Linked DNA regions of Homo sapiens: region 1 is linked to region 2. The links are contacts of gene promoters, found by promoter capture Hi-C in human tissues and cell types (Jung and others, 2019). All regions are on one chromosome and are shown on one strand. The core of a region is centred on a gene start or on the middle of the fragment in contact, and the rest is flanking DNA. Distances in the headings are between cores, read along the strand shown. Region 1 overlaps TTC8 (tetratricopeptide repeat domain 8). Region 2 holds the start of TTC8 (tetratricopeptide repeat domain 8).

Region 1 (4,128 bases), core at 301-2,800, 43 kb after region 2:
CTCCATCTCAAAAATAAAAATAAAAATAATAATAATTTAAAAATCTAATTAAAGATTTTGTGTCTACATTTTGTGAATTGGATCAAAAATAACCACTAAAAATCACTTGATACCAAATTTATTATATACTTGCAATGGCATTTATATACTTGAAAATGTAATTTTAAGTCTACATTAATAAAATCTATTCTAGAACTAGTAAAATTTAAACAACTCTGATAAAGGAATAAAGAAAATAGAGTCAATGTGTGTTCATATATATGAAAATTTAAGATGTGAGAAAGATAGCCTATTAAGCCAATTGCATTACTTGGTTATTTAATAAATAGTTTAAAAATAGAGCTGGATGAGTAATGATTTATACTATTAATTACTGCCAGATTTAAAACTTTAAAAATTTAAAACTTCAAAAAATGATACCCTGAAAGTTCCAGAAGAAAACACAGATGAATTATTTGTATAAATTGGAATGAGGACGATTTTTCTAATCATGACACAAAGTCAAAAAGCCATAATAGCAAAGATTGATAAATTTGAGAATGTAAAAGTTAAATTTTCTAAATGGCAAAAACAAAAAATAGAAACCAAACCCATATACAACAAAACAAAAGATAAAAATATCAAACAGGGAAAATAGTTGGCATACCTGGGACAGACAAAAGACTGCTTTTGATTTCCTCAAACTACACATTGCTTAAAAATTGCTGAAAATGGGAGATTTAAACACACACACACACACACACACACACACACACGCACACACAAATTCTCATCTATTTAGTCAAGAATGTAAACATGGAAACGAGGTATTTCCATGTCATGGTGTGGCTTTTCCTTAGGCTCTTGTTTCCTTTCAGCCTACACAGTGGCCATTGACCCTCTCTGTGAAAGTAAAATCACCACAGAGATGAGACAACAACCAAGTTCCAGCTGCATTGACTATACCGCCCCCCTTTTGTACTTAGGGCTTGGTGACACCTATTTGGAAGAACTTAATTAACCATCTATACTTTTCCTCTGAAGAGAATGTTTATAAACACTGAGCCTTCCTGTGTTGTTGAACTATGGTCAACATCAACACGGGCTCTTTTCATCTGGAATAGAACACAGTCAGTGCCCAGGGATTCTTGAGCCACACCTCAGCCTCCAGCTCTCCTGTGTCCAGGAGGGCAGTGTTCCACCCAAGACTCCCATACACACAATCGTGGAGGGACAAAAGATAGGATAGGATAGAAGAACAGACAAAAAATATGAATTGGCAGTTCACTGAAAGAGAAATATAAATAATATCTGATGTGTTAAATGCCTAACCTCTGTCATAATTAAAGATATAAAAAACTAAAACAACAGTGATAAGCCATTTTTCACTCAATCAGATCAGCAAAGATGAAGAAGTTCTATGTTATCTAGGGTTGCCAAGGGTGTAGAGAAACAAGCTCCATGTATGAACATTTGGAAGTTGTTTGCAATTATTGATGATATTTTAAAATGTGCATGCTCTTTGACCTGGCCATATTACTTCTAGGAATTTTCCTTAAGGATATTTTCATACAAGTGCACAAAGATCTGTACAAAGATGTTTTTATAGCATGTTTTTTGGTTAAAAAAAGGAAACATATGCTTGAACAAAAAGGGACTGGTTTAATAAATTATGGTCTCTGTATTGATGGAACACTATGCAGAAGTATTATTTAAAAATATGAAGTAAAGCTTTTGGTTTTGATATGGAAAGAGTCAAGACACTGAGAGTGAAAAAATAAACTGTATATTAGAATGTATAGAATGATTCTGTTTATGGTTAAAATATGCACACCCATATGTATGCTTATGTATGAACAAAATTTCCTGAACAATACTCAAGAAGCTATTAACAGAGCCTCTGCCTACTACAATTTGGGGATGGGGCATTTACTTTTAATTTTGTACCGTTTTGTAAGGTTTACATTTATTTAGTATAAGCACATATTTTATAAGTTTATAAAACTTAATTGAAAACCTACATACGAGGTTGTCAGTACAATAGGTGTTTCAGTCTAAAATTCCTCGAGATTACATAAATTAATTTCTGTGTCCATTAATTAAGTATACAAGTATTCAAAAGTAATTTTATAGAACCCAAAGTCTTGAACCAACTGGCTTATTGAGGCTTGAGCCTTCTTTGCATTGGGCGTTGCCACCTTTGGAAGCTGTAACACTGAAGCCTAGCACTGTGGGATGCTGTTGGCTTTGAAAAAGAATTTCAAATATAAAGCACATGAAGAAATATATATAAAACATAGATTTGGGTCAACTGGTGAATGTTTTGTTAGGGTTTTATGGGACTGATAAGTTACATCCCTGTTCTCCATGTTGAGAACCAACTGAGAGAGAGATACAAGATTTCGACAAATAGAGGTCAGACCATTAGCTTGATTACAGATAAAAGCAGAAGTGGAGCTTTTGGCTTTAGACCTATGCTCAAAAGGACTTAACAACCTTCTCGCTCTGGGTTAAACAGACTAATCTACCCTGTCACAAACATAGTTGTACCAACCTACAGACTTTCTCCACTCAGAAGAGCTTATTATTTTTCATAAAAATGTTATGTATGTGAACATGTAATAGGTTTATTTTGTGTTATTTAGAATGAATTAATAAGTAAATGTTTAAAGATAGCTCAGTTGCAATTTCTAATATTAATCTATATAACTTACATAAACAAAACTTCTTCTCAGCAATTTTTAACAGTTTAAAAGGAATCTTAGACCAAAACGTTTGAGAACCTCTGTTCTAATGGAAACATGGGAAGCTAAGAACATTTTTTAGAGTTGTTTAATTCTTGTTTATTAATTTTTCAGTTTCTAGAACACTAAATTTTGTGCTAAGAAATGGCACATATGATCTTGCTTTAAAGGAATTTACCATATTTCATGGACTCTAAAAACACATTTTTTTTCACATTTTAACATCTCTGAACTTGAGATACATCTTAAAATGGATAGCATCTTTTTATGGCCAAGTGGCAGTTGCCATGTAGTTGTCATAGTCTGTTTATATGGAAACTTGGGTAATTACTCTTGGGAGCATGGTGAACCTGGTAATTATTACTGGTTGTAGCCTGAAAGCTTTTGTTGACACCTGCTGGTAAGATCAAGAAAATCAAGAAAACACAGGTATCAGCATAGCAGAATGACTGTCCATAGGTTGGAAGAAAATCTTGGAGACAATAGTGGAGCACTTTTAAGAAATATTAAAAGTGGATTTTAAATGTTCTTACCACAAAGTATGCAAAAGAGTGATCTGTGATGCAATCTGTGTATGAGTATGTCTAAATATCAGTGAGGATCAAATAAAAATTCTGTTTAAAAAAAGCACTGCATGGTGCTTCTTAACAATCAGTAGAGTCTCTTATATTTGATATGATTAAAATTTAATGAAAAGTATGAGTCCTTCTCTAATGAGAACAAGTTCACATAATAAACACCATGTAAGTTGAGAGGTAGAAGACAGCTATGTGAAGTGAAGGCATTAGGGAAATCTTCATGAAGGATGTGGAGCCTGAACAGGGCCTTGAAGGTGGACTTGAGAAATATAACATTCATTGATAACATTAGATGCATACATTTATGATTATCAGTATTTTAGAAAGAATATATAATAACTGTAGAAGGTTTATTTAGTTTTTCATTTTGTATGTATTTCTAAGCTTGGTCTTGGTTGCTGTCTTTTCTTTCCTGGACTTTTGATCTTCCTGCTACCACTCTTTCCTATTTTGGTATGTCTAGCATGCAGCAGTCAAGTTATTCTTTCAAAATGCAAATATGATTGTTATTCCTCTCCTAATGGATTTCTCTCAACTAGAAAAAAAAAAATCTGAAGTTCTCACCGTGGCTTACAAAGGCCCTGGCTGCCTCTCATCTCCTTTTGTGCCACTTTCCCTCTTCCCAGCCTCATTTACCTTCGTGTGGTTCTTCATATGTGACAAGCACGTTCCCCTCTCAGGCTCATACATTTGCTCTTCCCTCTGCCCAGAGTGAGCTTCCCCCAGATATGCTCAGGGCTTGATCCTTCACTTCACTCAGGTCTTTTCAAATAGCACCTCCTCCAAAGTGGCCCCTTCCGCCACCCCTTCTGAAGCACACTCTCCCT
Region 2 (4,202 bases), core at 704-3,203:
CTGAGACACTTAAAAAAACAAAACCGATGCCCCAGTCCTACCTCAAACAATTTAAGTCAATATTTCTAGGGCTGGAATTGGGACATCTCTATTTTTAAGAACTTCTCAGATATTCTACAAAATACTTGACCAGCACTTTTCAACACTGTCAAGGTCATCATAAACAAGGAATGTCTAAAAAACTGCCACAGTGTCAGAGGAGGTGAAGGAGACATGATAACCGAATGTTATGTGGTACCCTAAGTGAGATCCTGGAATAGAGAAATAACATTAAGGGAAAACTACTGAAATCCAAATAAACTGTGGAGTTTATTTAATAGTAATGTACCATTGTTGATTCCTTAGTTGTAACAAATGTATCATCTTACACTAAAACAAATGTCAACATCTCACACAATAGAGAAACTGGGTATATGGGAACTGTCTACTATTTTTGTGACTTTTCTGTAAATCGAAAACTATTCTTTAAAAAAGTTTATTTAGAACATCTGACTATATGCTAGAGAGTAAAAGATAAGGATCTATGAACTGAGATCTAGCATCATTTGTGAAACTGACCCTTTTAAAGGGTTTCTCTGTGCTTCACTTTCTCTAGTAGGGTTGAAAATCACTTACATAGTAATCTGCTTACAGTGTACCAGAAAACAAAAAGACGCTGTGAAATATTGAGCCCAATTGTCAATTGTCGGCATGTGCGTTCTTAAAAATTTGACACTCAGAAACCATGGGCTGCTTCATTAGGACCTTTAGGGAGATTACATTTCTACCGGCAGTTCCAGGAGAACACAAATAGACTAATGACAATACACTTAACTGTAACAATGACAATCCTGATAATTACTGACTTCCAAAATACAACAATTCAAGAAAGACTGCTTAGTAGAGAATAAAAGGTAACAATAAATTTCTTAGTTTAGAAGCATAAGTTTCATTTTAATACCTATGAAAAATATAAATATGTGGATTAAATAGAATGTCTAATGTTTTCTCAGACCCCAGTGGTTTGAGAAAAGCCTACCTGGATTTAGCCGGTCACACCTCTCTTTTCATAACCATTGCAATTTTAAGCATATTTGTCATCTGTGCAAATTTCTAGAGAAAAGTCAGAATTGTGTTTGAAGAAATCACTCTGCACAAGTAAACCCTTGCCAAACAGCAAGTGCCAGGAGACGATGTTTCACAAAGCTTTTAAAAATTATTATTATTATTATTATTATTATTATTTTGCACACATTATCTAGTTTGGTAAAACTGTCACCAATTTACAATCCGGAATCACCATGTGAGTCGAATTAACAAATGTATTAGCAACTTGTAGTCAACCAGATTGCAGTTCCAGCTCCCTAACTCAATGCAATTTTAATAATTTCTCTTCTCTGAGTCTATCTCAGTTTCTCATCTGTAAAATGAGTAAAAGCAAACCACTTGCAGTTCAGATGTTGAGATTCGGTGGGAAGGACCTCGAGAAACAGCGGACAATTTCAGGATTTAGGACTTTAGGTCTTGATGGGTGGATGGTACTGTGGAAGCTGTTTACTTGTTTGTATTTCTAGAATCGGAAGGTAAAGCGAAAGGGATGGAAACGAGCGAATGGAAGAAGTAGGACAGACACCAGACAGAGATCAACTCCAGGGACTCTTCCGGACCTGCAGGGCAGGCAGAGCATTCGGTTGCTAGGCAGCTGCGCCTCCTGGGAGGGTGGGGGACCCCAGGGGCAGGTGTCTAACTCACTACCTTTTTGTTTAGCCGCGGTGCCTTCTTTTCAAAATCAATGAAACCTGTAGCCTTTAAAAGTAGACATCTTTTTCCAACCAAGTTTAGGCAAGCCCTGTAGCCGAGTTCTGCTTGCGGTTGTTTTTCTTTTTCCTGTTCTCAGGCGCGCTGCGGGCACCTCTCGGACAAGGCCCCAGCCGTCGCGGGTTGCCGGGCAGAGTCGGACGCCGCCAGCTCTTCACTCCACGCCCACCTCTCTCCTGGAGCGCTGGGCCTTCGCTGGCCGCACCGGCAGCCATGAGCTCGGAGATGGAGCCGCTGCTCCTGGCCTGGAGCTATTTTAGGCGCAGGAAGTTCCAGCTCTGCGCCGATCTATGCACGCAGATGCTGGAGAAGTCCCCTTATGACCAGGTACCGGCCAGCTCCCGTCAGCCTGTGCATCCTGACGCTGAGGCTGCGGGGTCTGGGGCATATCCCAGCCCCGGGTTGGGAGGCCGGGGAGGAAGGCCCGAGGCGGGGCTGACCGTTCGGCCCTCGGAGGCGCCCGGAGCGAGACCTTGTGGAGCTGTGACTAGCGGGTCCGCTGTCCGCCACGTCCACGGGGATAGCAAGTTCTGTGCCATGACCGCCCCCTCCTCACAATTTTCAGCCTCCCCTCCCCTATACGTGTCCCAGAATGAGAGCCCTGAACTTTACTTGACGAGGAACTTTGATAATTCGTTTATACTTGCATATTGATGGGCTTTAAGCTCTCAGCGTGTGCGTTGTTAATTTCTAAAAAATATGCATAAACAAAGATCTGTGACTCTCCACCTCCTGTTAACATAGCTGCCTTCTTCCTTTTGGATCGAACATGTGATCCTCCCACCTCATCTTTAGACTGTTGTCCAAGAGTGAAGGAGGCCATGAGTTTAGCTTGAGGCAAATATGCAAATTAGAAGAATGAGAATCTAGGAGGGAGAAAGATACATTCATTATTTAAAAAATTACCTAGGCAAGGGAAGCTCTAATTGTAGGAGGGAGAAATGGGAAAGAAAGGCTCCTTACAAGAAGGAATGATGGCATTGATGAAAAGAGAACTTAAACTAGAGTAATGTGTATAGCGAGTGGAAAAGGTAGTATACAATGTACGTGAGCGGTACAATTCTGGTGGGCAGGTGGCTCCTGGAATAGGCAAAAAAGGAGAAAATGGGAGAACAGAAGTAGCGCTGCGGCAGTTTGTCAGTGCTTTTAGTAAGTGCGGAATATACCTACGTAGTTCTAGTTCCCTAGCTTTTCCTCTAGTGGTGTTGCCTTGGAGATGTTAGAAAAAATGGAAAATTGAAGGGAGTTACAAAAGCGGAGGCCTGAGTGTGAATGCTGTTACTAGGCTCTGCCTTAGCTCCCAGCAAATGGATGATGGATGATAACCTGCTGAGATGAACATTTTGTCTTTCAGATAGTACATCTCTCTTAGAACAGCCTACGTTAGTGGTAATACAAAGCTAGGTTCTGTTGTTAGTTCACATTAATTAATAGGACTATATTTCTGTAGACAAGCATTTTTCCAAGGTTTTTTTAAATTTTTTTTATTTTTTTTTATTTTTTTTTGAGACGGAGTCTCGCTCTGTCGCCCAGGCTGGAGTGCAGTGGCACGGCGCGATCTCGGCTGTCTGCAACCTCCGCCTCCCAGGTTCAAGCGATTCTCCTGCCTCAGACTACCGAGTAGCTGGGACTACAGTTACGTGCCACCAAGCCTGGCTAATTTTTTTGTATTTTTAGTAGAGACGGGATTTCACCGTGTTAGCCAGGGTGGTCTCGAACTCCTGACCTCGTGATCCGTCTGCCTCGGCCTCCCAAAGTGTTGGGATTACAGGCATGAGCCACCGCGCCCAGCCCCCAAATGTGTTTTTGGCATAGTAATCTTATAGATATTGCTTAAAAAAATACACAATCAAATATGTTTGGGACTTGTGACAAAATATTGACCCTTTACGTTGGTACAACAGAAGCTTGTTAAGAACCTTTGATGTGGCCGGGCACGGTGGCTTATGCCTGTAAACCCAGCGCTTTGGGAGGCCGAGGCGGGCGGATCACGAGGTCAGGAGATTGAGACCATCCTGGCTAACACGGTGAAACCCCCTCTCTACTAAAAATAGAAAAAATTAGCCGGGCGTGTTGGCGGGCGCCTGTAGTCCCAGTTACTCGGGAGGCCGAGGTAGGAGAATGGCGTGAACCCGGAAGGCGGAGCTTGCAGTGAGCGGAGATCGCACCACTGCACTCCACACTCCACAGCCTGGGCGACAGAGAGACTCTGTCTCAAAAAAAGAACCTTTGATGTGCCAGACATTGTTCTAGGCACAATGGTTTGCAGGAACTTTATGTGCCATTTTAATTTTTCCATTGAGTTACGGTAGTTTTCATTCTGTGTTCCACGAAACAGTAGTCCCAAGAGCTGTTCAGTGAGAACAAGTTCCCTCATTAAGTACATTTGGGAAATGTATGTTCCT

What was found. The method cuts DNA at HindIII sites, captures the fragments that hold promoters and counts their contacts. A contact is called where the count stands out against the background at its distance.
Region 1: a contact is called between a fragment that was not itself captured here and the fragment with the promoter of TTC8 in region 2, in 2 of the 25 tissues and cell types used here (adrenal gland and aorta).

What each region holds. Positions count from the first base shown.
Region 1 is chr14:88,865,660-88,869,787 of GRCh38, forward strand. The region is part of intron 10 of TTC8 (tetratricopeptide repeat domain 8); the gene reads left to right. Among named protein-coding and RNA genes, the nearest start is that of TTC8, 43 kb to the left of the region's middle. The HindIII fragment of the contact is 3,687 bases long and covers 1-3,394 here.
Region 2 is chr14:88,822,698-88,826,899 of GRCh38, forward strand. TTC8 (tetratricopeptide repeat domain 8) reads left to right here and starts at 1,954. Exons shown (of 15, transcript NM_144596.4): 1 at 1,954-2,124. The coding sequence starts at 2,011. RefSeq lists an enhancer at 1,606-1,965. The HindIII fragment of the contact is 5,735 bases long and covers 1-4,138 here.